Linked DNA regions of Homo sapiens: regions 1, 2, 3, 4, 6 and 7 are each linked to region 5. Evidence: promoter capture Hi-C in 16 types of primary human blood cells and fetal thymus (Javierre and others, 2016). All regions are on one chromosome and are shown on one strand. Each heading gives the region's core, a stretch centred on a gene start or on the middle of the fragment in contact. The rest is flanking DNA. Distances are from core to core; before and after follow the strand shown.

Evidence for each region. Contacts are between HindIII fragments. The CHiCAGO score rates a contact against its expected background, and 5 or more counts as called.
Region 1: a contact is called between a fragment that was not itself captured here and the fragment with the promoter of KLLN in region 5, in 1 of 17 cell types (naive CD8 T cells). The highest score is 5.5, in naive CD8 T cells.
Region 2: a contact is called between a fragment that was not itself captured here and the fragment with the promoter of KLLN in region 5, in 1 of 17 cell types (endothelial precursors). The highest score is 7.7, in endothelial precursors.
Region 3: a fragment that was not itself captured here is called in contact with the fragment with the promoter of KLLN in region 5 in 5 of 17 cell types (M2 macrophages, total B cells, M0 macrophages and 2 more); the score reaches 12.0 in M2 macrophages.
Region 4: a contact is called between a fragment that was not itself captured here and the fragment with the promoter of KLLN in region 5, in 2 of 17 cell types (total B cells and naive B cells). The highest score is 9.7, in total B cells.
Region 6: a contact is called between a fragment that was not itself captured here and the fragment with the promoter of KLLN in region 5, in 1 of 17 cell types (total B cells). The highest score is 6.1, in total B cells.
Region 7: a fragment that was not itself captured here is called in contact with the fragment with the promoter of KLLN in region 5 in 1 of 17 cell types (naive B cells); the score reaches 5.8 in naive B cells.

What each region holds. Positions count from the first base shown.
Region 1 is chr10:88,265,401-88,268,936 of GRCh38, reverse strand. All of the region lies in intron 1 of LOC101929727 (a long non-coding RNA gene), which reads right to left. It also overlaps a transcript of RNLS not described here. Among named protein-coding and RNA genes, the nearest start is that of RNLS, 320 kb to the left of the region's middle. The HindIII fragment of the contact is 9,608 bases long and covers 1-3,536 here.
Region 2 is chr10:88,242,835-88,246,317 of GRCh38, reverse strand. The region is part of intron 1 of LOC101929727 (a long non-coding RNA gene); the gene reads right to left. It also overlaps a transcript of RNLS not described here. Among named protein-coding and RNA genes, the nearest start is that of RNLS, 340 kb to the left of the region's middle. The HindIII fragment of the contact is 1,075 bases long and covers 1,232-2,306 here.
Region 3 is chr10:88,315,920-88,319,532 of GRCh38, reverse strand. The region is part of intron 5 of RNLS (renalase, FAD dependent amine oxidase); the gene reads left to right. The region is part of intron 1 of LOC101929727 (a long non-coding RNA gene); the gene reads right to left. Among named protein-coding and RNA genes, the nearest start is that of RNLS, 270 kb to the left of the region's middle. The HindIII fragment of the contact is 3,708 bases long and covers 1-3,589 here.
Region 4 is chr10:88,219,395-88,222,933 of GRCh38, reverse strand. All of the region lies in intron 1 of LOC101929727 (a long non-coding RNA gene), which reads right to left. It also overlaps a transcript of RNLS not described here. Among named protein-coding and RNA genes, the nearest start is that of PTEN, 360 kb to the right of the region's middle. The HindIII fragment of the contact is 156 bases long and covers 1,700-1,855 here.
Region 5 is chr10:87,862,277-87,866,084 of GRCh38, reverse strand. KLLN (killin, p53 regulated DNA replication inhibitor) reads left to right here and starts at 2,552. Exons shown (of 1, transcript NM_001126049.2): 1 at 2,552-3,808. The coding sequence starts at 3,598. MLDHR (mitochondrial lactate dehydrogenase regulator) reads right to left here and starts at 2,526. Exons shown (of 1, transcript NM_001433720.1): 1 at 2,431-2,526. The coding sequence starts at 2,526. The coding sequence ends at 2,431. PTEN (phosphatase and tensin homolog) reads right to left here and starts at 2,460. Exons shown (of 9, transcript NM_000314.8): 1 at 1,537-2,460. The coding sequence starts at 1,615. RefSeq lists silencers at 2,166-2,305, 2,396-2,705 and enhancers at 3,306-3,485, 3,736-3,808. The HindIII fragment of the contact is 7,182 bases long and covers 1-3,808 here.
Region 6 is chr10:88,341,988-88,345,640 of GRCh38, reverse strand. The region is part of intron 5 of RNLS (renalase, FAD dependent amine oxidase); the gene reads left to right. The region is part of intron 1 of LOC101929727 (a long non-coding RNA gene); the gene reads right to left. Among named protein-coding and RNA genes, the nearest start is that of RNLS, 240 kb to the left of the region's middle. The HindIII fragment of the contact is 517 bases long and covers 1,386-1,902 here.
Region 7 is chr10:88,289,746-88,293,430 of GRCh38, reverse strand. The region is part of intron 6 of RNLS (renalase, FAD dependent amine oxidase); the gene reads left to right. The region is part of intron 1 of LOC101929727 (a long non-coding RNA gene); the gene reads right to left. Among named protein-coding and RNA genes, the nearest start is that of RNLS, 290 kb to the left of the region's middle. The HindIII fragment of the contact is 3,051 bases long and covers 766-3,685 here.

The sequences.
Region 1 (3,536 bases), core at 233-2,732, 400 kb before region 5:
CATGTGCTGGAGTGGTCAGAACCCCTAAGCCTGAGTTAGTCAGTGCTTCATGTTGTATTGGCCACACCAACTGGTTCAGAGGTAAAATAAACTTGAAATAAATTCATTCTGTCAGACTGGGACTCAGAACATTGCAAGAGTTTCCCACTGGACTTGAAGCAAAAGATCTGAGCCAAAGCTGCTGGTAGCCATGCCACTCTGTGGGGCAAGTCTAGAGCTGCCAGGGTCCCCATAGGAAGGTCAAGAATAAAGTTAACACAGAGGATGGGAGAGCCAAGAGATGGAGATAAACTGAGACCTGATGGCATCATTTGAGCTCTGAATTCAGCCCTGGCCTGTCTGCCTGTAGGAATCAATAAGTTCTTCTTTCGCTTAAGCCATCCTGATTCATTTTTGAAACTGTCATTCTAGTGAGAGAGATATACAGCATGCAGGGGCCATGGAATCAACCCCCCCACAGCCACCTCCCACATGGTCCTATTGCATGGTTTGGCCATGTCTAATCATTGGGAATTGTCTGTTCATTTGTTTTTCACCAATCTGGCATGGTAGCACATCTTTGAAGGTGAGGAGGGCATCGGGAAATATATGGAGAGCTTTCAAGTTTTTTCAATGACTGGGAAGTGGGGAACACAAGTGACATTTAATGGACACAGGCCAGGGATGCTAAATGGTCTTGAGAGGTATGGGACTATCCTGCCTAACACAAGATAGTCCACCCAAAATGCCAATAGCGCCACCATTGAGAAGCCTTCAGAGGGTGAGCTTGCATATTGAAATAACGCAACCCTGAACTATGGTAGGTCTGAAAAGAGATCCAATTAGTGATTATTTAATAGAAGAATCCATATGCAGTTCAAAATCTTTGAAAAGCGTAAAATAAAACCAAGTGTTGTCTCGAATACCTTCTTTGAGCACTGCCAAAATTCACAGAACCTTTCTGTTTATGAAAAAATCTTACACCAACGTTTCTCCCCTATAAGGCTGTAGAATTTAATTTTCTTACCAAGATATTTAAAATCAAAATTTCTCTGGGAACAGCACAGCCATGGCAGGCTCTCTTCCCTTCTGTGGCCTCTGAGACCTTTAAGAAGACACTGAATCACATGACTTCTCAACTTCCACATCCAAATTCTCTATTCCTCACTTCTTCCTCCTTTCTGAGCCTTTCTGCCATTGGCCATCTTTTTAAAAATGCACCCTAACTCAAAATGGGAAGGTCTGACTTTATTGTTCAGATGTGCTCAATTTGTAGGTTTTGTGTTCTCCTGGTTAGACTTAAAGTATGTATTGGTGGTATTTTCATCCAGGAGTCCAACCACTCCTTGACAGGGGGTAGTTGTTTGTTTTGTTCTGTTTCTAGAGACAGGGTCTCACTCTGTTGCCCAAGCTGGAGCACAGTGGTGTGATTGTAGCTCACTGCGCCTTGAAATCCTGGACTCAAGCAATCCTCTTGCCTCAGCCTCCTGGGTAGCAAGGACTATAGATTTGCGCCACCATACTCAGCTAATTTTTTCCCCTTTGGTGAAGAGGGGGTCTCGCTATGTTGCCCAGGCTGGTCTCAAACTCTGGGATCAAGCAATCCTCCTGACTGAGCCTCCCAAAGTGCTGTGATTGCAGATGTGAGCCACTGTGCCCAGCCTCCTTTTGCTTTATAGCATCTCTTATATATTGCTTCCTGGGTTTGCAGCAATGTGAGCTCAAACATCTGACAAGATGCTAGAGTCTTCACCCTGGGAGATTTGTAATTCACTAAAACTAGAATTTATGGTGTATTAATTTGGGTCCTCTGCAAAACAGACACAAAGACCAAATTAGAAGGAAAATGCCTATGAAAGATAAAGGGTACAGGGAACAGGAGTAGGCAGGGACAGCTTTCAGACAGTGACACAGGTCTGACACCTGCACTGGGAGACAAAGAAGGAGGGAAGGAGGACTGGCTATGAAGACCAAAGACAACGATTCAAATTTGAGATGACCTCAGCCTGGCCACTGCAGATCCCCAGAGCAAAGATTGACTGTTAGAGGAAGAAAATGGCCCAGCTTTTGTGCTCTGATAGCAGCTGACACCAGCAGCCAGCTACCTTTCTCACAGCAGGTTCTCTTAAAGGGAGAATCTGAGTGATGTACATGCTGGCAGCCATGCATGATGACTTTTTTTTTTAAGTAGAAGTTGTTTGGCATTTGTGGTGTGTGTGGGGTGTGTGTGTGTGTGTGTGTGTGTGTGTGTGTGTGTGTGTGTATTTAAAAGAAAAGAGATTGCCTTGGAAGTAGGAGTCTGAACTGTGACATGATAAAAACAATGCAAACCACAATAGAATATTTCTGTTTGCAAGACCAAGTCCCACCCACAACTTCTAGACTGTTGGCTTGGTCAAAAGAGAATAATTCTACACTTTACAAAGCAATGGGATTAGAAATGAAAATCAGCCAAGGCAAAGTATACTGAGACTGCTGGGCATCCAACATCCTGTGTTAGTTGTAAAGGGGGAAAAGCCCTCTGTTTTGGCCAGGAATCAGGGGAGTTATTTTAGGAGCAGCCTCCCCAGTGACCCAGACATTACCATTTGATTTCCAAAGCTCTAAAGAACGTAAGCCTTGAGAGCATTTTTCCACTGCCCTATGTTTCTTTCTCCATAGGGCTTTTTGCACAAATCTGCTGTAAATCCAGCATTCATCTTCTCAGGGGAGCCTGTGGAGAAGTGAATCATTGTTATTAGAGTGGGTGAGCCTGCCTAGAAGTGACTGGCCTGCCCATCCTAAGGACCTCCTGGCTTAGCATCACGTGACTAGCCAGCCTGGTAAAAAAGCACTCAGAATTTACCCATATGCATCAAATTTTACCAGCCCATCTTCTGCCAATAAAGTGCCCTAGATAAAAAAGCCCAGGAAATTACAGTCACTTCTACAATCCTTATGACATTTTCTAGGTGAATTTCTCTAATGTGAGCTGCCTCATGCTGGCTGCTGGGGAGATGAAGGAAAGGAATTCGGAGAAAAGTAAAGCATGGAACTATTCCTAAAGGGATGAATGACTAATTCGCCATTTGGGACACCCATGAGTAAACTCAGACCCTCCTATTACTCAAAAGGGAAAGACAAATCAGTTATAACAAGCAATATTAATTGTGCACTTCTGAATGATCTCATTTTATATTTAGAACAACACTCTAAAGAAGACTTCTCCAAAAAGCTCCTACAACTGATAAATACATTCAGCAAAGTTAGAGGATACAAAATTAATGTACACAAATCAGTAGTTCTGCTATACACCAACAGCGACCAAGCTACGAATCAAATAAAACACTCAACCCCTTTCACGATAGCTGCAAAATAAAATAAAATACCTAGGAATATACCTAACCAAGGACATGAAAGACCTCTACAAAGAAAACTACAAAACACTGCTGAAAGAAGTCATAGACAACACAAACAAATGGAAACACATCCCATGCTCATGGATGGATAAAATTAATATTGTGAAAATGACCATACTGCCAAAAGCAATCTACAATTTCAATGCAATTCCCTTTAAA
Region 2 (3,483 bases), core at 520-3,019, 380 kb before region 5:
TTGTGATTGGATTTGGAAAGTCAGATGAGTCTCCAAGGGAAAGGGACTAGTTCTGAGCTGTTGCACTTAGAATATTTTTGAGCCCCAGAGCAGATATTTATGAGAAGGGAGAGTTGTTTTTGTCTCAAATCCAGGTTCTGACTCTGATGTGTAGTGAGGAAGCCGCTTTGCACTGCAGACCTGAAGTCCCGGAATATCCATGATGTCACCTTTTTCTACTGATCTGCCTGCCACTGCACAGAGGCACGCTATTAGCTCTGTGATGTTTTAGCTTAATTCTCCCACATGTGGGTTGCAATTCTAGCCAAAACAAAGTCGGCAGGAGATTTTATAGCCACTGAATTGCTCAAGGTGCTACAGGCTCAGTGAAATCAGGAAATTAGGTTGGGATGCATGAACAAAAAGATAAACAGAAAGAAAAAGCATCAGGATGGTGGGATTCGAGGTTGCCTGTTACGTGATTTCCAAATCAGGAATCAAGCCTTCGGTTTTGCAATGGGTGATTTGATGCTCTGGGTTTTCACCTTTGAGATTTTAATGCTTTTCTGGCATATATGATAGAAGAAAGCACCCTGTTCCAGGTGGTGAACCAGAAGTCCCTCTCACTAAATTAGAAAGGAGACATTTTAGGATATGAGATCATGAAATAGAATAGTATTTGAAAAGAAAAAAAAATGAAAAGAAAAAGAAAAGAAAATCACATATATGCAATAACACACAACTAGCCCAGCACAGGGTGAATTTGTGGTTAAGCCATTTTTTTCCCATTGCAGATGATACTTTAACTCTTTGAATCTCAGAGTCCTCCTGCACACATGCAGCATGAAAAGACGTTTCTGCGGCTGCCATCATAAAGCCAAGCTGTACCTCAGGTTGAATTAGGAAGGTCCGGGGTTCTGTTAGTGTTCTGATTCTGAGACTGCAGCTCTTTGCCTGAGATCATTCTGCCTAGCTCTCCTCTCCCTGCCAGCGCCTTAATAACGTAAGCCCAAGACCCTTGCTCTCAGATCTTTTGAACGAACAATGGTGCTGGGCAATCACACCATAAAGGACTATTTGTGATCATTAGGGAGAAAAGGGAGGGGGGTAAAATGTTATGCTAATCAAAAGCAACAACTGTTATTTCTTCTTCAGTGCTCTTCACAAAAGTCACATGGATGATGGTAAATCTTCGAGCTGATGCCAGATAAACTCTGAAATTTTAAAGTATTTGTTTCATATGGGCAAAGCTTTTCCTTTTTTTCCCCTTTTTTTCTTCTCTCCCTTTACCCTGTGGGAAAATGAACTTATTTTCAGTCACCCCTGACATCTGACCACTCAACTGATCACGAGGACACTGTGGCAAACCACAACTCAACTTGAAATTGTCTCTTTTAGGCTCGGTTCCTGTACTTTGGATGGCACCATCCTTGCTACCCAGCATTAGCTTTTTTTCTATGGAGGTTCCATTTTTACTTTCTTCCATTTACTCAAAGTAAGTGGTCTTGCTGTAAAGTCTCTCAGTTGGGCTTGTCCTCAAAATAAACTGAATGCAAAAATGACACCAACTTTTCAGCCAAAACCCCAAAAGTGGCCCATTTACACAGTGTGTCCTTCTTTTAAAAAGAAAGAAAGAAAAAAAAAAAAGCATGAAAACCTTAAACATCCTGCAAAGGGGGAAGGAAAAGCCAAGTCTCTTGATTAATATCGAGATGATACAGCAGGGTTTATACATATTCCTTCTGTTTGAATCATCTTGTTTTTTGTAGCTGTTTTACACCTCCAGGATCCTGCCATCTGCCCACTCTAAAGAAACACAGCAAAGCAGTCCAAAAACAATGGCTGGAAGGAAATCATTGTGATCTAACTCAAGAGATCAACTTGTCTGCACCCTTTCGGTTACTGCTACTCTTCCTGGAGAGAATACAGTGTGGTGTGGCCCAGAGGTTCATATTATGGGGGGGCGTTGCCTCCTAATAAGCCCCCCGGTGCCTGTCACACCATCGGCTGACAAGACAGAACATGGTGTACGGATCTGGCTGCCCTCCTGGCTGAGGAACAAGGAGGAGGAGGGAGTGGGCAGCGCCCTGGGCAGTTATGTCCTACTCATATCTGGTGTGTGTCACTGGAATATAGGTCAGCATTTGCTGTACAACTTGGGGCAGGCTGGAAGCATGCAGACCCCGGATTGGGCCCAGGAACCCCCACCCCCACTCTCTTCTTGCCTAAAACAAGTTAACAAGCCCGAAGAGCATTGAGAGAAGCCATCAGGACAGAGGAAACCAGCCTTTCCATTTTGCACGCAAATGCTGGGGAAATCTAAAGCTTAGCAAAGGCGTTATCAGTCCTGGGGTTGGGCCAAGATGCAGGCTGAAGTTCAGCTGGCCAGGCCAAACGCAGCTGCTGGCTATTCAGGCTTCCCACAGGGACTTTTCCTCAACTCCTGATTTAGATAGTGAAATGGATGGGTAATGTGTACATAGCTGCCAAGGGTGATAGGAGAAACAAAATGACTTTCAGTTACTGAGTAGTTCAGGTGGAGGCAGAGAACACAGAAAAGGTTTTCTTTCCAACAGCAAAGTGAAGTGTCCGTTAAAGAGCTGCTGGCCTTGCAGGGAGATTATTACTTTAAAGGAATATCGGCAAATGCTTTAGGCTGAACATTTGGGCTTGCTTACTTCCGTTTTTCCCCGCAGTTCATAGAGGGATAAAGATATTACATGAATTGGATTTTTCTTGTGAATTAAAATATCGATGCCCTGATTTTTGGTAACGAATGTTGCCAAGTTTGTGCTGAGCAGACAGAAAGGAGGAATAGGACTAAGGCTTTGCCTTTGGGGAAATGCAAAAAGGGTTCACAAAAAAATGTCCCATTGATTGTCCAAGGTCACTGGACTATGCATGCTCAAAATGGAACTCAAGACTCCCAAACTGCAGTGTCTGACTCATTGTCCTTTGACTAAACCAATGAAAATAAAATGGGTTAGCACAGAGTATTGTTCCAGGACAAAAAGTTCAGAAAGCCAGCAGAGCTTCAGGGAAAATGGGATTTTCTTTAATTAAGCTGACATTGAATGCCTCAGTAATAATCTTGTAAATTTGAATTTATCATCTGCAAAGTAGGCATATTTGTGATTTCCTAGCATGCAAGTTAACTTAAAATTTAGTGAGTATCCCTTATGTTCCTGGCACTGTGCGAGGCATTTTCCCACACATTATATGATTTAATCCTCACAAGGATCTAGAGAGTCAGATATTATTATCACTGTTTTACTGATGAGACTTAAACTGATCAATGTTCCGCTTGAAGTCTAACTGTGGAGCTGGTATCCAAACCCAGGTTTCCTCACTCCCTTATGGGTTTGTTTGTTTGTTTGTTTGTTTGTTTGTTTTGACAGAGTTTCGCTCTTGTTGCCCAGGCTGGAGTGCAATGGCATGATCTTGGCTCACCGCAACCTCCACCTCCCAGGTTCAAGCAATTCTCCTGCCTCAGCCTCCCAAGTA
Region 3 (3,613 bases), core at 486-2,985, 450 kb before region 5:
TGGTTTCTTTGTATTGGATTTCAACTTTCTCTTGGATCTCATTGAGTTTCCTTAAAATCCATATTTTGAATTATTTGTCTGCCATTTCAGACTTTTCATTTTTGTTAGGACCTATTGCTACAGAGCAAATGAAATACTTTGGAGGTGTCAATCCACTCTAGGTTTTTTTTTGCTACTAGAGTTCTTGCACTGATTCCTTCTCATATGAGGGATCTGTCACGTTTATTTTTTAATTTTCTGTCCTTTTGATAGGACTTTTACATTTTGTAATTCTTTTTTATCTTGAGGGTATGTTGTATGTTGTGTATGATCATTTGGCCTCCTTTCCAGGTGCTTTCAGAGGACCAAGGTGCTGTATGGGTCCTTCATTGTGGGTAGCTTTTGTGTGGTGGCTTTCTCGGATGCTGCTTGTTGTAGCAATATATTTGACATATGAGCTAACACTCTATCTACTGCTTGGCTGAGGGTATGGAAGTCTCATCACATACACTAGCACTCAGCCCTTCTGGCAGCAGGTGTTTTATTTGGTGGTGGAGTTCAAGCTCTAGTCCAGTAGGTGGCACTTAAGAGTAAGAGCTGGCCCACCCACAGGTAGATTGATGATGAGCGGAAGCACCTGCCCTGATATAGAGGGGAGGAGATTTTGTTGGAGCATGCTGAGGTCTTTGGGGAAGGAGCAGTTGGGGAAGTGCACCAGCTCCTCATCCTGACCAGGCAGGAATGCCAGCTGCTTCCCCTATCACACCATGTCACAGGGCTCCCAGCCTTCAGTTCATAAAGACTTTTTCCTTTGGTTCCCAGCTGCAATGTGGCTATGGGCTACTGATATACCATTTTGGCAGCTACCACCAAGATGGTCTTGGGGCAGAGCCCCTTCCCCCAGTCCAGAGCAGACAACTCTGTGGCTTGTCTGTGTCCTCCATTGCCAGGATGCTGCTGTTTTGTGTAGGGTCAGGGAGTTGGGCCCTGCCCTTTGTGCAAGCCCAAGCAGCATGGGCTCACTTTCAGCGAGTGTGGATTCACTACAAAAAGTGTGATAAGTGCTTTCTCCAGGTGCACATATACCAGCCCCCAGCCAGAAGAACCACTACTGCATCCTCAACAGTGGCTAAAGGTGGCAAGGGGTGGATGACTCCCTCTCCACAACCCTTCCTAGCCATCAGTGCTACCCCCTTCACCGATTGGTGCCACTTCCTTCATTTCCTTTGTCCCAAGGGAGACTTTAGTGGGCTGTGCTCCCCATTGCCTTCAGGGCAGCCCACCAAGGGTGAGATCTCCAGGGCTCCCACAGCTCCACAGGGACCCAACAGCCCCATGTTTGCCAGAGACAGAATGGGTTGTGGGGTATGTTTGTGGGGAATCTCGTGGTGTGGTGACTCAAGGGCAGAGATTCCCTGGGCAGGGCAGTGTCCCACCACAGGTGCACAACCAGCATGGCTCAGTTCAGCCATGTCAGTTCAGGTCTGAGGGGAGTGTAGGCATGCTTAACATGAGCTGGCCACCTGGTTCTTTGCCCCTGGAAAATTCCCCCAAGTCACCACTGACAGCATTGCCCGTGATCCAGAGGGCAGAGGGGCTCCCCAACAGTTTGACAGTCAGTGAATTGTTGCAGGGGTGAAGGGAGCAGAGAAGCACACCCACTACCCCTTAGCACAGGGTTCTGAGTTCCTCAGGGGTCAATCTCTGCCAGACCCTTGCTGCTTTTTTTTTCTGCATCTCAGCTTTTTCCCCTGGGCACTCTGTCAGGTCCTGGATCTCTTCTGTAAGTTTTGCATTTGGAACTTGTCCATTCACAGATAACTTTGATCTTTCTGAAAAGAGCTGGCATCTGATGTCACTAGACAGGCATCTTGAAAACCAGCAGCTTGATGGTGACTGTTATAGAACAAAGTGAACATACTCAATGCTACTGAACTGTATATGTAAAATAGGTTAAAACAGTAAATTTTATGTATATTTTACGAAACACACACAAAAAAATCAAATCCTGCTCTGCCTATACCCAGGAATAGTCTTCCATTGTCGCTGGGGTGTTGATGTAATGATCAGTCTTAATGCTTTGAGAGAAGTCAATTCTGTTATCCCTTTCTAAAGCTGCTCTTTCAACAGTGGAGAGGTGGAAACAAGAATATTACCTAGGAATGCCTTCTGTTTGTGTAGCACTTTATGTTTGAAGGAAGGCTTTTATGTGAGTAATTCATTTAATCCTCATGGCAGCCTTGTAAGGTCAGTAGTGTTGCTCCCTTTTAATTGATGGAAAAAAGTGAAGCCTGAGAGATTAAGTTGTCCAAGATTACAGGGCTATTAAAGGATGCAGAGGTTCAAATACTTATCTTCTGACTCTATAGCCATTGATTTCCCAAAGTAGAGAAATAATTGTCAACTTACTGTGAGCTTTACATTTAAAATGCCAAAAGCTAGGTGATATTCTTGTTAAACTGAATAAAGAAAAGAAAAAGAAAAATAGCATCATTAACTTCCCCGTGACCAAGGAATAATGATTATGCTGAATTTATGCTCTAGATCCTATTAACATATTTGTGGCTTTTTATACTGCTCTATTTTCAAACTTTGATCACGTTTAAATTCTGCTTGACTCTTTGTATTTTTAGACTTTAGCTTCTGAAAACACACTCTGATTTAGGGTTGGGGGAGCTTTTCCCCAAAACTTACTGTTTTCAGTCATAGCTATTCAAATTTTCATCTAAATTTTCAAAATAAATGTACAATTCAAATAAAAATAAGTAGGCAGGTTGTTCTCTCATTGTTATGCGAGAACTATTTCACTTTAGGTCTTAAATTTCATGTTTTATTGCTCTCCGTGGAGTGGATGGTTAATGTAAATGGGAGAAACCTGGCATCACACCATCACTGGTCTTAGTGACTTTACGAGTTTCCCCTGGAACAAATAGCTGGGTCAGTGCAACCTCCCAATTCTCAGCATGCAGCTAGCATTCATTTTCCTTTGAAGCCTGACATAGATAAGTCAACTCAGAGCCCCAACTTCCCTGCTTCAGAATGCTGACCTAGTAGTTTTCTCTGTTGCTGGGAAGATGTGGTACTGTATGGAAGAGGGGTGGCATTGATACCCCGTCACTGTGAACAAGCCTCCCTGAGTTTATTAACTGATAACATAAATAAAACTTCCTAAGGCAATATGCAATAGATTTCTCACTGTGGTGGTATTCTGTGAAAGAAATTGAGATTTTCCACTCCTGAGTCCTTCCCTCTGTACAGAACCTGTAAAGTCTTCACTGACAGGTTACACATTGAACATTCAAAGAGATGGCCCCTCTATTTCCTCTTTCAAGTTGTTCCAGCTACTGTGAGGTGAAAATACTGTACAGCCCAGCTTACCATTGCATTTACTGCACAAATTCTGAATTCAGGTCCCTCACCTCGTATATGTGAAACTCCTTGGAAGCATTCACTTCACTTTAAAAAGTTTGCAGCATGTTGGGACTCTCTTCTCTTGTGTTTTGCCATAAAATTCATAAACCAGGGTTCCTTGTGCTGAGTGCAAAGGAAAAATGAAGTACTTTCACAAAACATGACTCACACCTATAATTTAGGCAACACTGAGGAAGCTTTACGCGTGTCTCTGGCTTATTGC
Region 4 (3,539 bases), core at 528-3,027, 360 kb before region 5:
AGTGGAAGATGCTAGTTAAAAGAATAAAAATCTCTCCTAAGGCCAGGAAGCTGACTATAGCTGCCTCCTTTGCTGTGTGACTCCCTCGAATTGATTTCTGGTTGCCTCAGCAGCAGATGAATCCAAACCCTTTGTACTAACTCTGCCCTGTTCAATTCCCCACAGTCTTGTGGACAGATCCTGTCATATTTGTTTCCCTGCTGTTTCTTAGATCAGTCCTTCCAAAGGTTAGACACTTACCTCTCATGGTGATTTGAAAACTAAATCAGTCAACACATGCTAGTAACACTTGTTCATCAGGCGTTGTGTAGGCTGTGATTTTATAATAATAAAAAAAGCAATATTCCGGGAGGTCTTTTAAGCATTTACATCAATGTTGTCATCTGAGGTTCATGACAAACCCCTAAGGTATATTATTATTATTTTTCCCCAGTTTTATAAATTGAAAATTGAGGCAGAGAAAGTAACTTGTCAGGGGGTAAACAGCCTATTAGTTGTGGGACCAGGCTGTGAATTCAAATGATAACTAGAGCCTCCTCCCAGACTCCAAGGAGTTTATAATCTACCAGGAGGTTTGTATATCACATCCTACTAGCCATAACACAGAATGACATGTCCCAGCCTAGTGCTGTGGGATGAGGGAACTCAGATGTGGGTTGGATTATTTCTGCCTGTTTCTATTAGGACAGCTTCCAAGGTGGGTTGAATCCTAGGACGAGCCAAGCTGACCAGACTTCCCTTGTCACAATCCACTTGAATCTACCCACCAGAATTTTAGATATAATTCCTGCCACAGTTTTCAGTAGCCACATAAGCCTATGTGTCAGTGAAATGGAGGCAAACAAAAATAATAATTAAAAAACCCAACCCCTCAGCTGAGTGGTAAAATACTTAATGCTTAATGATAGTACAAACTATCTACCACCCAACTTTCCATCCAGCATGCATTCACCTCAGGCAGCTCATAAAAGCTGAGACCCTGGAGATCATCTAGTTCAATTATAACAAATAGATTTCATTTCATGTGTCTACTCCAGTCTACTGAGAGCGGATTTGCTGCTGGAACACTGGGCTTAGAGGCATGCTGAGGCCGTCAGAAATCAAAGGAAAAAAAAAAGTGCCACAATTGATTAGTGATGTCTGACATGGGCTCAGGAGTGGAGAATGATGACACATGTGCAACACATACACCAGACACAATCTGATCCAACTTGCTTGTTTTACAGAAGAGGAAACAGTACTCCAAAATGGAAGATTGTGTGCCCAAAATCGCTTTGCAGGTTAGTGGCAGAGTTACTTGATTCCCTGTTAAGTGATAATTGATGCTCACAGGATCAGCAGCAAAACCAGCAAGAAAATTACATTATGCTTAGTACAGTATTTGTGTTAAGTGTATTTTATTCTGATTCCTTGAAAGCTGCTGATCCATGTAATGTAACTCCATTCATTGGAATATTTGATTATTCAGAGCATTCTCTGACTTGGCTGCATAATGGGAAATAACCATCCCCCAGGCAAGAAGCAGTTTATTCTAGAAAAAAGAAAAGACGACAGTTCAAGGTCTACATTCATTTTCAAAAGGACCAGTGACAAACATTTATATAAGTGGTACTGCTGACCAGTTTGACCTAAGCTTGTCAGTAAAACTTGACAAAATGAAAGGCATTTGAAGGAATGATGGCTCTCTAAACAGCAAGCTTGGCTAGGCTAAACCTTGGTGGCCAGATTTCTTCATCTCTAAACATTCTTGAAGTATGAGCTCTTCAAGATGTGAGCCCCGAGGGACAAGTGGGACTGCAAAGGTAGAGAGGAAGAAAGGAGGGCATGCCAAGTAGGGGGATGCATATACAAAGCTTCCCGGTCTGAAGGAGTGCAGCCCTTTGATGGGAGCAGGTGGAGTCTTGGGAGCACTTGAGAAGCAAATGCACCAGAGTGGAAAGAGCCTGGATTAGGCACTTAGACGACCTCAAACTCAATCCGAACTCTGTCACTTGCTAGCTGCAGAATCCCAACACAGGTTTCCTTGCAACCTCTCTGGGTCTCAGTTTCCTCATCACAAACAAAAGACAACACCACCTATCTTTCAGAAGGATGCTGTCAAAATTGAATGAGATAATTATGTCAAACACCCATACATGATAACTGGCATTTAGTAGGTGCTCAACACATGGTCAGGTCCAGTCATGAATAAACATGCTGTCTTAGTATATTTTGTAGTAAAAACAATACTAGGGCAGGAGCGAGAAGCCCTGAGTTCTGGTCCCAGCTCTATTACAAATGCACTGGAGTCCTTGGACCCTCTGCCTTGCACACTGCCAGCATTAAATAAATATTTACAGAATGAATAAATACACGAATAAGAAAATCCAAGAAAGATTTTACGTAAACTTGTTAGGCTCCAGTTTTCTCATCTATCAAAGGAAGACTGGCTTCTCAGATGTCATTTAATAATAAAGTTATTTTGATATCTGTATTTCATGCAGCTGAAAGCATCCACTATAATTTGAGCACTGTCTTGGGCATGAGACCGAAGTGCCAGGGAAGTTCATAGAATGCAGCCCTGACCCCAGCAGTCCCTTGGCTTAATGGCACCTGAAGTCTTGACCCTGCCCACCCCAAAATCCTAAAATGCTTTGCTCCTTCTTCGAGCTGACTCCAAGCAAAGGAAAGCAGATTTCAAAACAAAGTATATAGCCGTGGGTGGAATTGAGGGCTGGGGATGTGTTTCTGCCACAACTCATTCATATGAACTACTGGCACCAGCATTGTCCTCTTTCTGGATTTTCAGCCTCCTCAACTGTGAATCGGGAACTGCTAATTAGAGGGTTTATGCTTCTCAGTCACCAAGAAAGTCAGAATGCCCTGTCCACCCTTGGCCCTTCACTGCAGATGGACACCAGCTTGTTCAGTGGGAAGGGAGTAGCAGGGAAGGTGTGCTGAGCCATCAGGGTACCAGCTCAGCTCAGGGACCGTCACACTTTTCCTGGTTTCCCATTCCCCAGAGGAGATTCCCCTGAAGGGTGGGCTCAGATCCCAGAAGGGGGCAAAGGAGCTCAGGAGCAGGGGGACAGTAACATTCATAAGAGGAGAGTTCAAAAGGAAATAGCACAAGCTGGAAGTAATTGATGTGTCTTTAATGCTTTAAATATGCCTGCTTTTGTTTATTTTTTTAAATCTCAACAAGTCACAGACACTGAATGGTAAATTAGAGTTCTATTCCTCCCTTTTGGTACTCCCCCTTAAGAGGAGCTTTTATATGGCTTTTAAAGATAAAACTTCAGAAGGCCCTAGGTCTGTGCCCAGGAGTCAGGTAAAGCAACCATATGACTAAGGGAGGGAAGCAGCAAAGACTGGCTGATGTGCCCTTCCTGAAAATGAGGTAGAAACCGGGAAGTACAATTAGGTAGAAACCAACAGTTAAGTTTGCTGGGAGTTGATGAAAGCAAGAAGTCACAGGACCAGAGAAGTCAGGGGAGCTGTTTGTAATTCACATGAGTGCTAATAGGAAATCACTGTAGGTTTCTAAGCAGAGTAGGAAC
Region 5 (3,808 bases), core at 1,303-3,802:
TTTGCTAAGAAATAACTTTTATTAAAAATACTGTGCTAGTACTTATGCAATTACATAATTTTAACTAAATATTGTCCACTGCCACAATTCGCATTACCAAACTCATATTACCAAATTTTAGGCCTTGATAGAGCCTAAATGCTTCAGTCACTTCAGACCAATAACTTAATTCTGTTTTCACATACCTTATACACTGGCCTACCAATAGCTCTCAATTCCTGTCAATACTTTCCCCATTCTGCAAAAAGAGGGCCCCATCCCCATCCCTAATCAAAACCAATGTGTTGTACCTGAAACTGCAAAGATTAATGCTTTTCGATGACCACTAACTTTTGAAGCCCGAAGGCCTAACTTTTAGACAACTAAAGCTACACACTGTTAAAATTCTTGGGCTTCTGTCTTATTCAGCAAGCTGACTCAGTAAATTTAATACACTGTATGAAAAAAGCTAACATACCTACAATCTAAAGCTGGAGTAAACCCCTCTTGCCAGCATTTCTAGATATTAGCTGGTAAAATACAACTGACATTCTACACAAATCAGTAAAATTAACGATACCAAAAGGTGTCAGAGGACCTGAAACCTAAAAACGGTGAGCAGCAATTCTGGCATCACAACAATACTTAAATTTCAAGCATGAACTGAAGTTTTATTTCTGCAATCTTCACTTGCTACACACAATACCCTTGAACCTACACATTACCATCTGGGATCAGAAACTACTCAATATCCATTCTATGTTTATGACAAGAGCACTGAACATTAAATGCTACTGAAGTGCAAATTTCAAGCACTATCCTACATCACCCCATAGGGAGAGAAAAAGGTAAATATAACAAAGATCTAGTAAGAACGCCTTATAAGGTATATTATGGCACTATTGACTTCAAACTACAAAACTTCTACATACAGTTCAAAGTTGTAGGTAACTTAAGTTTAAACATTAACAAAACTACTTTTTGCCCTCAATGTGCACCATATATACTGAAAATGATTCTGCTTCTAAAGTTATGCAAATCAGTCATATTTTAAAAGAATCTATCAATGCAACTCAGGAAACTAAAACAATCACTGCAAGATTCTGATGCAATATGCGTACGTGCAACACTAATTTTCATTTTATTCTGATCTAAACCCTTGATCTAGGGCCTAAGCCAAGATTTAATCGAAATATGCTCAACCTCAAAAAGCGTCTACTTTTTTGTTCATTTAGGAGACCGGATTACCGAGCTCGCTAATCCACTAACAGTGTACTGTATTCTGTATTAACGGACAATAGCCCTCAGGAAGAGACCATATAGATAGCCTAAGAAAGCAATCGGTGGCTTGACACTTGCAACCAGGCAAGAGTTCCGTCTAGCCAAACACACCCTAGGTTGAATACACAGAAAGGAAACACAAAATATATGACCTAGCAACCTGACCAGGGTTAAATGTTATAGTCACCCAAACTACGGACATTTTCGCATCCGTCTACTCCCACGTTCTAAGAGAGTGACAGAAAGGTAAAGAGGAGCAGCCGCAGAAATGGATACAGGTCAAGTCTAAGTCGAATCCATCCTCTTGATATCTCCTTTTGTTTCTGCTAACGATCTCTTTGATGATGGCTGTCATGTCTGGGAGCCTGTGGCTGAAGAAAAAGGAGGAGAGAGATGGCAGAAGCTGCTGGTGGCGGGGCTTCTTCTGCAGGATGGAAATGGCTCTGGACTTGGCGGTAGCTGATGCCCCTCGCTCTGCCGCCGCTTGGCTCTGGACCGCAGCCGGGTAATGGCTGCTGCGGCGGCTGCTGGATGGTTGCAGCGACTGGGCCTGCTTCTCCTCAGCAGCCAGAGGCCTGGCAGCGGCGGCAGCGGAATGGGGAGAAGACGAATAATCCTCCGAACGGCTGCCTCCGCCGGCGGCCTCCGGAGCCCGGGCCACGGGGGGTGCGGCGGCGGCGCACGGGAGGTTTAAAACCGGCCCGGGTCCCTGGATGTGCCAGCCGCCGCCGCCGCCGTGTTGGAGGCAGTAGAAGGGGAGAGACCAACTCTCCGGCGTTCCCAGCCCTGGAAATGGTGACAGGCGACTCAGACCCCCTCCCTGGAGCTGCAGCCGCCGCGGCCGCCGCCGCCGCCGCTTCTCCCCCCCGCTCCAGGAGCGGGAGGTGCCGCCGCCGCCGCCGCGCCTCAGCCGGCTCCCGCCCGAGCCCACGGCTTCCACCTTCCCTTTCAGGAGAAGCCGAGGAAGAGGCTGCACGGTTAGAAAAGACGAAGAGGAGGCGAGAAACGCCGCCGCTGCCGCCGCCGCAGGCCGGCCGGCTCCCCGAGGGCGCTGCCCCCGCGGCTGCTCACAGGCGCTGAGAGGGGCTCCGGGCCGCGGCCGCCGCCGTCTCTCATCTCCCTCGCCTGAGCCCGGCCTCGCCTCACAGCGGCTCAACTCTCAAACTTCCATCATGGCTGCAGCTTCCGAGAGGAGAGAACTGAGCGCAGTCGCGTCCCAGCGCCGAGCGCGTATCCTGCCGCAGCGCATAAAGAGTCCCGCCACATCACCGCCCGCCGGCCTGCCCGCCCCCTCCGCCGCCGCGCCGGGAGCCCGGGCGCCTCGGAAGACCGAGGGGAGGCGGGAGGCGAGCGAGAGGCGGACGGGACCGCGCCGGGCGAGGGGAGGGCAGGGCAGGGCAGGGGGCGGTAGGAGGGGGCAGAGCGGTAGCTCTGGGTGCGAGCGCAGAGTCCCCAAGCCGCAGGCTCTACTGAGCATGCCCAGTGTAGCTGCCTGGGGCTTGCTCGGGCCGGTTCCCAGCCGCCAGCCTGCAGCTGCACTTGCTGCGGCTTTTGCAGCAACGCGAGGCGAGGATAACGAGCTAAGCCTCGGCCTCTGCCCAGAAACCCAGCCGGAGGCAGGGTAGGCTGTTGTGGGGCGGGGGTGGAGGACTGATGATGAAAGCTGAGATGGGTGCGTTGAGCAGTGTCACTGACTCGAGTCTGAGGTTACCTGTGCACAGGTGAAAAGGACCAGGTGACCACGCTGCTCAGTGTAGAGGGAAATGCAGGGACGGTCCCTGCAAGGGGAATACCCTCCCCCCTTGCCTCTACCCCTAGATTTCCGCGGCGTGGACTGCATTCGCTCTTTCCTTTTGCACCGCTGTCGGATCACAATCGTTCGCAGAGATTTGACTGTAACAGCCTTTGCCTAGAGATTCCCCCTTCCCCCAAATCTGTGTCCTCATGGTGTCAGTCTTAGCACAAAGAGCAACCTGCTATTGTGTCGCCAGCGTGTATCACCTCATCCGGCTCCCTTGCAGCGCCCCACCTCTCGCTTCCCCGGTAACTCGGCTCGTTTGCCCTAAAAATGAAAGCTCTCAGCCGAGCGTGCTGAACGTGAACACATAGCCGTTGAATTTCAAGGGCCCAAAGGGCACCTATCTAAATGAACTGAAAGAGGATCCCTGTGAGTGGGACGCACCCCGCAGGCCTCTCCTGCGCCCGCTCCGGTGCCCCCAAGAGAGTCGAGCATCTTTCCCCTCGGGCTCCAGGTCGGTTCGCGGCGTCGGAGTCAAGCTCGGTTCTCAGAGACCACCTAGCCCCGCCCCCCCTTGGCCGCCGTGAAAACCCGGCAGGATGGATCGCCCGGGGCCAGGCTCCGCGCGCCCCGGCCGGACCGTGCACGTTTGGGGTTACCGGGTTGAGTGGAAAGTACGGAACGGTAGGAAGCTGCAGCCCAGCGAGTGGGCGGGGCGAGGAGACCTAGGAGGGTTCAAAAGGAGGTGGAAGGATACACGGGCCACAGTCGGAACTACTTTCCGAAGGAGGTCACGTGTGTCCCTAGTTG
Region 6 (3,653 bases), core at 395-2,894, 480 kb before region 5:
CATAGTAAATGCCAACTTTATAATTGTTGTCACATACAAATTATTTTATGGTTTTGGTCCATTAGTTATATAAATTTTTATTTTGAGAGACAGAAGAGAGAATGACACACTAATAGTGCAGGTTTAGTTAAAAATCACCCTTTGTTAAAAATAATACTTATACTTACACATTAGGAAGGCTAAACAATATCTTATTACCTGAATAAGTTATTAAACTCAGAGAACATGAAGTTAGATGCAGTTCTTTTTATGGGATGTCAAATCATTTTTTGAATAAGAATTTTTCCAAAAAAAATTTACACTACAAATAGTCTGAGAAGACTAAGCACTGTGAAGTAAATCGTTAGCAAATCAAAGAGCTGAGACTAATTCAAGAGCAGGTTTCGAAGTCTGACTGCAGAATCTCACCACAGGAAATCACTTCATTGCGTTTCATAAATACTTTATATCAGTTAGCATTTTTAACTCTGTTCAGAATCACCAATCCATCTTTTTGCCCAGATGTGACATTATTGAGTAAATTGAGCCTAAAGAGTCCTTTGGTTTATTACCAGTAAATTTCTTGTTATTAAGTGAGCTGAGAAGGCTTTTATATGCCCTCTAAAATCGTATGTGGGCCCTGCTATTTTTAATTGTCATTGCCCCTACAGATTCCATATATGTGCTCATTTATATAATGAGAAGAATCCATATGTACTGTACAGGACATTGAATTCCCTGCATAATATGAATGAATATTAAGCACTGGAATCAGAAAAGAATCTCTTGAAATTCCATTAATATTTATAACTGATCTGTGGGACTAGGGGAATTCTTTAGTATAAAATATTCCAAATTCATGTTTGTAAAAAATGAAGCATCCTTGAATTTAAAATATAGTTTTCCTCACTAAAATAGATTTCTATTATAAATATAGCAAGTGAATTCTTGCTGTTGTTATATATCCTTACATTATTTAACAGAGTCAGGAAAGGCACTTTAGAACCTTGAGGTCAGTTGAACCTAATTCACTCTTTTTTATTAAAAATAAAATGCCTATTTGTTTACTGTATTCATAATAGTAGTTTCTCGGGAGTGGCTAACAATATCATAAAGATTATAGTCCCTCTGATTTAAGAGCTTTTGCCAAAATACCCAGATCCAATCGTTGTTTTTCCTGTCAAAATATAACAGGAAGAGTAACTCCATTTGTCTTATTAGGAAAGAAGATAAGAATGTCCACAGTAAACCAGTAGATTTCCTCCACAAAAGGAGCCAGGAATATTTTGACACTATCATAAATAAAAATTTCACCATCTGCTTAGTCTCAATTTTTCAAATTCAGCATTTTATAATGTCAAGGCAAAAACTTCTCTTTACTAAACCAAATGGATGACAGCAAAGCTTTAGGTCAAATCCCCCAGCCCTGAGATGTATTTTGCTCATTTGAGCAGCTACAAATCTAAAGCTGAACCCAATTATGCAACTGCAGTGATAAAGTGATATCCTTAGAGGCAAACCAGTATGCTGGCTCAAGGGGAAAACCTTGCCCAATTCAGGAAAATAGTCCAATCATAATACCACTTAACACAAAATTTCATAGAGGGCATAATGCTGAGTAGGCCAAAATAACAATGTATAATAAGGGGTGGCTGCATACTGCTGGTGAGTATTGGGAAAGTGGAGCATTTTAGTGGACTGTCATCATAGAAAACCAGGGCTTTTTTAGGCATTGTGGAAGGAGAACTCCAGTGAGAGCCTGGAAAACCAAATGTGAGTTAGGACAAATCCTCTGCTCCAGGGACGTTTCAATTAAAGGACTATTGAAACCCTTTCGTTTTTCCTTTTGGCAGTGCAAATAAAAGCTGCAACAGACTGAAAATCTCCTTGTGTCCCAGGATAAATAGATGTTTTCATGAAGCTTGGGAGGTGTCGGCCAAAGAAAATCTTCTCCCAAACAGATCCTGAAATATATGCAGTCTCACTAAATGTGGCCTTTTCTTTGAATGGACAGAATCTATGGAATTTTTAAAGGAACGAATACAAGGAAAATAGAGGAAAATTATCCCAGCCCTGGACAGAAAGTAGAATTCAGAATATATTTTTGAGAGTTGTTTTACTCCTTTTTTGTTGTTTTTGGAAAATATATATATATGTTAAGATCAAACTTACGTTCATCACTGGCTCTTGATTGCCTACTTTCATTATTCTGAACTTTTTCCTCCCCCATCTTTCCCATTTTTGAAAATGGAGCCACCAATCTCCTAGCTTTTTTGGGCAAAAATCCGAAATCATCCTTGATATTTTCCACTCCTGCACCACAATATGCAATCTGAAACCAAATCGTATTGATATTTTTTTCAAAAATAGACTTTGAATTCACTTCTCTTCATCGTCACTGTCACTGTCAAGACACTGTCTTATTTTAACTGGCTTTTCCATCCTTGCCCCTTTCCAGTTCATTCTTCAAATAACCAGAATGGTTTTCTTAGAGCACACATCTGTTCATGCCACTCACTTTCCTGTTCAAAGCCCTTTAATGCCTTCCCTTTGCACATGAGATTAAATCTCACATCCTTAACATGGCTGGCAAGGTCCTGAATGATCTAGTACAGGGGTCAGCAGATGTTTTATAAAGGCCAGATACTTTAGACTTTGCAAGCCATACAGTCTGTTGCAGCTACTCAAATCTACTGATGTAACCCAAGCAATAGACATATAAAAGAATGGGCGTGGCTGTGTTCTAATAAAACTTTATTTACAAACACAAGTGGCAGGCCAGATTTGGCCTGAAGCCCATAGTTTGCCAACCCCTGATCTCACTATCTCCTCACTCCTTAGCTCTCCAGTCACACCTCTCTTTCCTCCCATACTTTTTTCCACCTCGAGACCTTTGTCTATTCTGTTCTCTACCTAGACTGTCTCAGTTTAAATGTCCTTTCCACAGAGGGCATTCCTGAAGTCCTAATTTAATTAAAATGGTTTCTCTATTTTATTTTTATGATTTATTTTATACTTATATTTTAATTTTCTGTAACTATACATTGATTTATGTGATTATGTGTTTAATGCCTGTTTTACCTTCAAGTTGTAAGGTCCATGAATTAAGAAATTGGATATCATTGTATCTCTAGCACCTGGCACATAGCTTAATACACAGTAAATTCTCAATGAAATGTTTGTTAAGTAAATAGTGAATTAATGAGATCTGATCAAAACAAGGGAGCAGAAAACAAAAGATAACAATTTGGGAATCTGAGATCTGAAATATGAGATGCTTTTCTTGAGTTCATTTATTCCTAAGGTAGGTCATTTTAAAAGTTCTATACTTGAAATAGGGAATATGTATTAACCAGGGTGATGAATAGGCATGTCCCAAATCTTACTGCTACAAAGGCGCTTGTGGCTGACACACTGTGGCTTACACAAAGTCAGATGCAGGTTGAGCAGCTCTACTTCATCTGGTAGCTCTGCCACTTGGAAGATAAGCCCCAAAAGTCAGCCTGGAAATAGGAAAGAAATGGAGGAAGCACAAGAGCTTTGAACAGCTTTGGCCTAAGGTTGATACACTTTACTTTCCCTCCTAATCCATTGACCAAAAAAGTATTAAAAGTAATGGTAAAACCACAGTTACTTTTGCACCAACCTAATAGTTACATGGCTGCAACTTTCCT
Region 7 (3,685 bases), core at 1,042-3,541, 430 kb before region 5:
GCTTTGCATAGATAGGGGCTATAAAAGAACAAGTTAACCAAATATTCAATTTCTGCTGTTTATGTACCATGGCATGGGCTTATGTTTACAATGGCAGCAGAGTAGAGAAATGCAAGGAAGTGAGAAAATGTATGAATCAGCTCCATACCATCTTAGCCTTCAGAGCTATTTATTATTGCCAGTATGGTCAATACCTCACATACGCAATGAGCAGGGGAAATGCCAAGGCAAGAAGATTATTACTCAAAGTTTTCCCCAGTCAAGTTAGTGTGCAACCAGTAAACAATAGCATTTCTCTGAATTCAGGAACAATTTAAGTAAAAAGTCACTGTCAGACATTGGAGTGGATGAAAATTTTTTTTTTGTTTCTTGTTATTTGTTTTGAGACAGAGTCTCACTCTGTCACCAGGCTGGAGTGCAATGGCATGATCTCAGCCCACTGCAACCTCCAACTCTGGTTCAAGCCATTCTCCTGCCTCAGCCTCCCAAGTAGCTGGGATTACAGGCACGTGCCACCACGCCCAGCTAATTTTTGTATTTTTTTTTTTCTAAGTAGAGACAGGGTTTCACCATGTTGGCCAGGATGGTCTCAATCTCCTGACCTCATGATCCACCCGTCTCAGCCTCCCAAAGTGCTGGGATTACAGGTGTGAGCCACCACGCTTGGCCGAAAATTGTTATTAAAAGATGCAGTGTGAGTATCAAAATACAAGGGATGGCTTAGACATCTCCATCTGCTGTCAAGGCTCATGCATACCAAAAGCTTATTAAAATGACCTGCAGGAAGGTAATATAACATAAGAAAGTGGTAAAATTATCTACAGTCTTTTGCAACTAGGTTTTTTTTTTTTTTTTAATGTGAGTTACCTTGTATGCAGTTGAGAAATAAGAGATCAGTATCAGGAGACTCATATTGGTTTCAAACTCATTTATATTTTGAAGTAATTGGAGTAAGTTTTCTTACAGGCAAAGATAAAGCCTTGCTAAATGTGAAGGTCTTAGGAATAAAAACTAAAAATCTACAAACATGCTTTCCTTTAGTGCAAATAGTGGCTGTTCCAATGGCTTAAAGAATTGCTGGTTTTCTACCATGTTAAGCTCTTTAGCAAAAGTGGAAGTCCAGATGGTGAAACCACAAAGATATTTCCCCTATATTAACATGACAGACTGATGAAAAAGGCAGCATCCTAGATCATATTTTCAATTTAGCTCAAAATGTTCTATTTTAGAAGCAACTGTCCTCCAAGACCCATATCTCAAAGGAGAAACACAAGCCCCAGGATCTAGGCTGCAAAGAGTGTACCACTGTAGCTAGATGCAGAAGCTGGAAGAATGTTAACTGTACTAGCCACTTTACTATGATGTTTATTGGTTTTGTTAGTGCTTGGTTCAAAGTTCCATAGGCTTTGAGTCATCTGCCCCCAAATCTGTTTTTTCCACAAGCCCTGATATTTTTAGCATACAATTTTGTAGAACTATGGTTGTAGCTAAAACGCCTGTATTTTATTTTCACACAGCAGCCAAAGCACCTGTGTGACCCAGAGAAGGGTAGTGTCCTGGAGAGGGGTCTTAGAAGGTTGTTAGAAGGAATTGTAATTGGGTTTGCAGCGGCATCTAGAGGAAATGGCTCCTGATGTGATCTGTTTCTTGGCATTAAAGGGTCTCTGGCTTGGAGAAAGGCAATGCATCAAGCTATAGTAATTTAATGGGAAAGGAGAGAAAAAAAACAGTAAAGAATATTTAGTTCCCTCATTTCTAATTATGTGTTCCTTCTGTAATCTTCTAATCCAGGGTTGGTATATAGAATTCCTCTCAAATGCCAACTCCAATTGACTGGTGGTGGCTGCCTGAGGCACGGAAGAGAGAAGGATGCTGAGGCCCTGTTGGGCTTCCTGGAAAGAATGCCACAATTGATTAGTGATGTCTGTCAGGAGTTGCTGCACCTGTGTCACCCCCATAATCTGTGATACAGTTGGGGAAATTTGCCCAGCAAGATGAATGATCTGGGAAGACAACCAGACTTGGTTCTGGAATTGGTACATTTACCTTCCTTTGAAAATGAACAAATGGATTCTTAGATAACCAGTATATCTCTGTCAGTTTCACCTGACGCTGCTCATTTGGGTGAGCTGAGAAAGTGGAGTGTTTAAACCAGCAATGCTAAAGACATTAGAAGTCCTAACAGCAACAATGCTACTTAACTGAAAAAGCACCGCTTAAAGGATCCTACCATTCATTATCTTTTGACTTGTCATGCATTGAGAAACTGTAGAGTATTTACTGTCCCTCTCCCCTCACCTTACTTAGTACTTGCCATATTTCTTCAACTATAAGATGCCACTCCATCAGTATACACCAGGAGATAGTCAAGATGTAGTTTTCACATGTGTGAACTTGGTTATTTCTGGTGCTCTTGGAGTGGGCAGCTGTAACTTCTTGATATTTAAACTAACAAATTACTTAAGAACAATTTGAGGAAAGAATATGAGGTCTAGTTGCTGTCTGAAAACCTTTCTTTCCCAGTGAAGAGAAAAAAGCATAATCCATACTTGGAGAACAGTGTCAGCAGCTCAGAAGAAAACCCAAGAAAAAATAATTCAGTGGAACATCCTTGTAAGAAATGCCACATTGCCAGTGTTTTAGACAGCACAGAGGACAGACTGCATAGGAAGTGCATGGATATCAGACATCAGCATGTCTGAGTTAAAGAGTGGTTCGGAGAAGTCCATCTCTAAATGCGAGCCTTTAGAATGGCTTCACCAATGTATTTCTCTTTTATTTCCTTTTTATGTTTGCAAAAGATACATGTAGATAAATCTGAAAGAACTTTTCTATTAAGTATAAAATAAAGTTTTGTGTCATGTTGACACCATTTTTTCTTTCTCATTGGTACATAAAATATTGTTGTGTTTTATGGTGCCTTAGATTCAATGAAATGTGGCATAATTTGCATTCATGGTGTAAGTGAGGAAATGTAGCAGGAAAAACTTGATTATTCATTGTCCAGTCTCCCTGATCACATTAGTTTCATATCTAGAATTAGAATTTATAAAACCTTAATTCTTGCCTACCCACTTGAATGTCACCTGTTGCCATGTTTCAGAAAGGTTTGTTTAAGTAACCAAATTATGGGCTGGATGGCTGAATAGGTCAGCCTAAAATAAAGCCACTCTATAGGCCAGACAAATGACTGTTCTCTATGGGGAAATGTCTCCTAGTCCAGGGACGCACTGTAGCTTTAGCATAGATATGAAAGGAAGAATGGACATTATTTGAATTATTTTGCAAATAATCAACTATCATTTTGTGAAAATACTCAGCCTACTTGTCTGCCTACCTCTTTCCTTTCATCTTTAATTTCATTTTCACACCAAAAGCACTTTTTTGTGTGAACTTTTACAATTAGTAATCATGATGCAAAGAAACTATTAGGCTGAACCATATACAAATTGACAATATTTTCCCATTTTTGACCGACGGAATCAGCAAGTTTATGTGGTTCAACTTAATACATGACAGGAGACAGTCATTAAAGCAGTGCACAGTCTGAGGCCAGAGGACACCCCTTCATTCATCATTATTAAGAGTCTTCTAAATACAATAGTTCCTCCATTTGAGCTTCTCCTCAGCTATATGGGGAGCCTCTGAATAATACTTTTTGTGTAGGTTTTCTGTCAAGAACTTC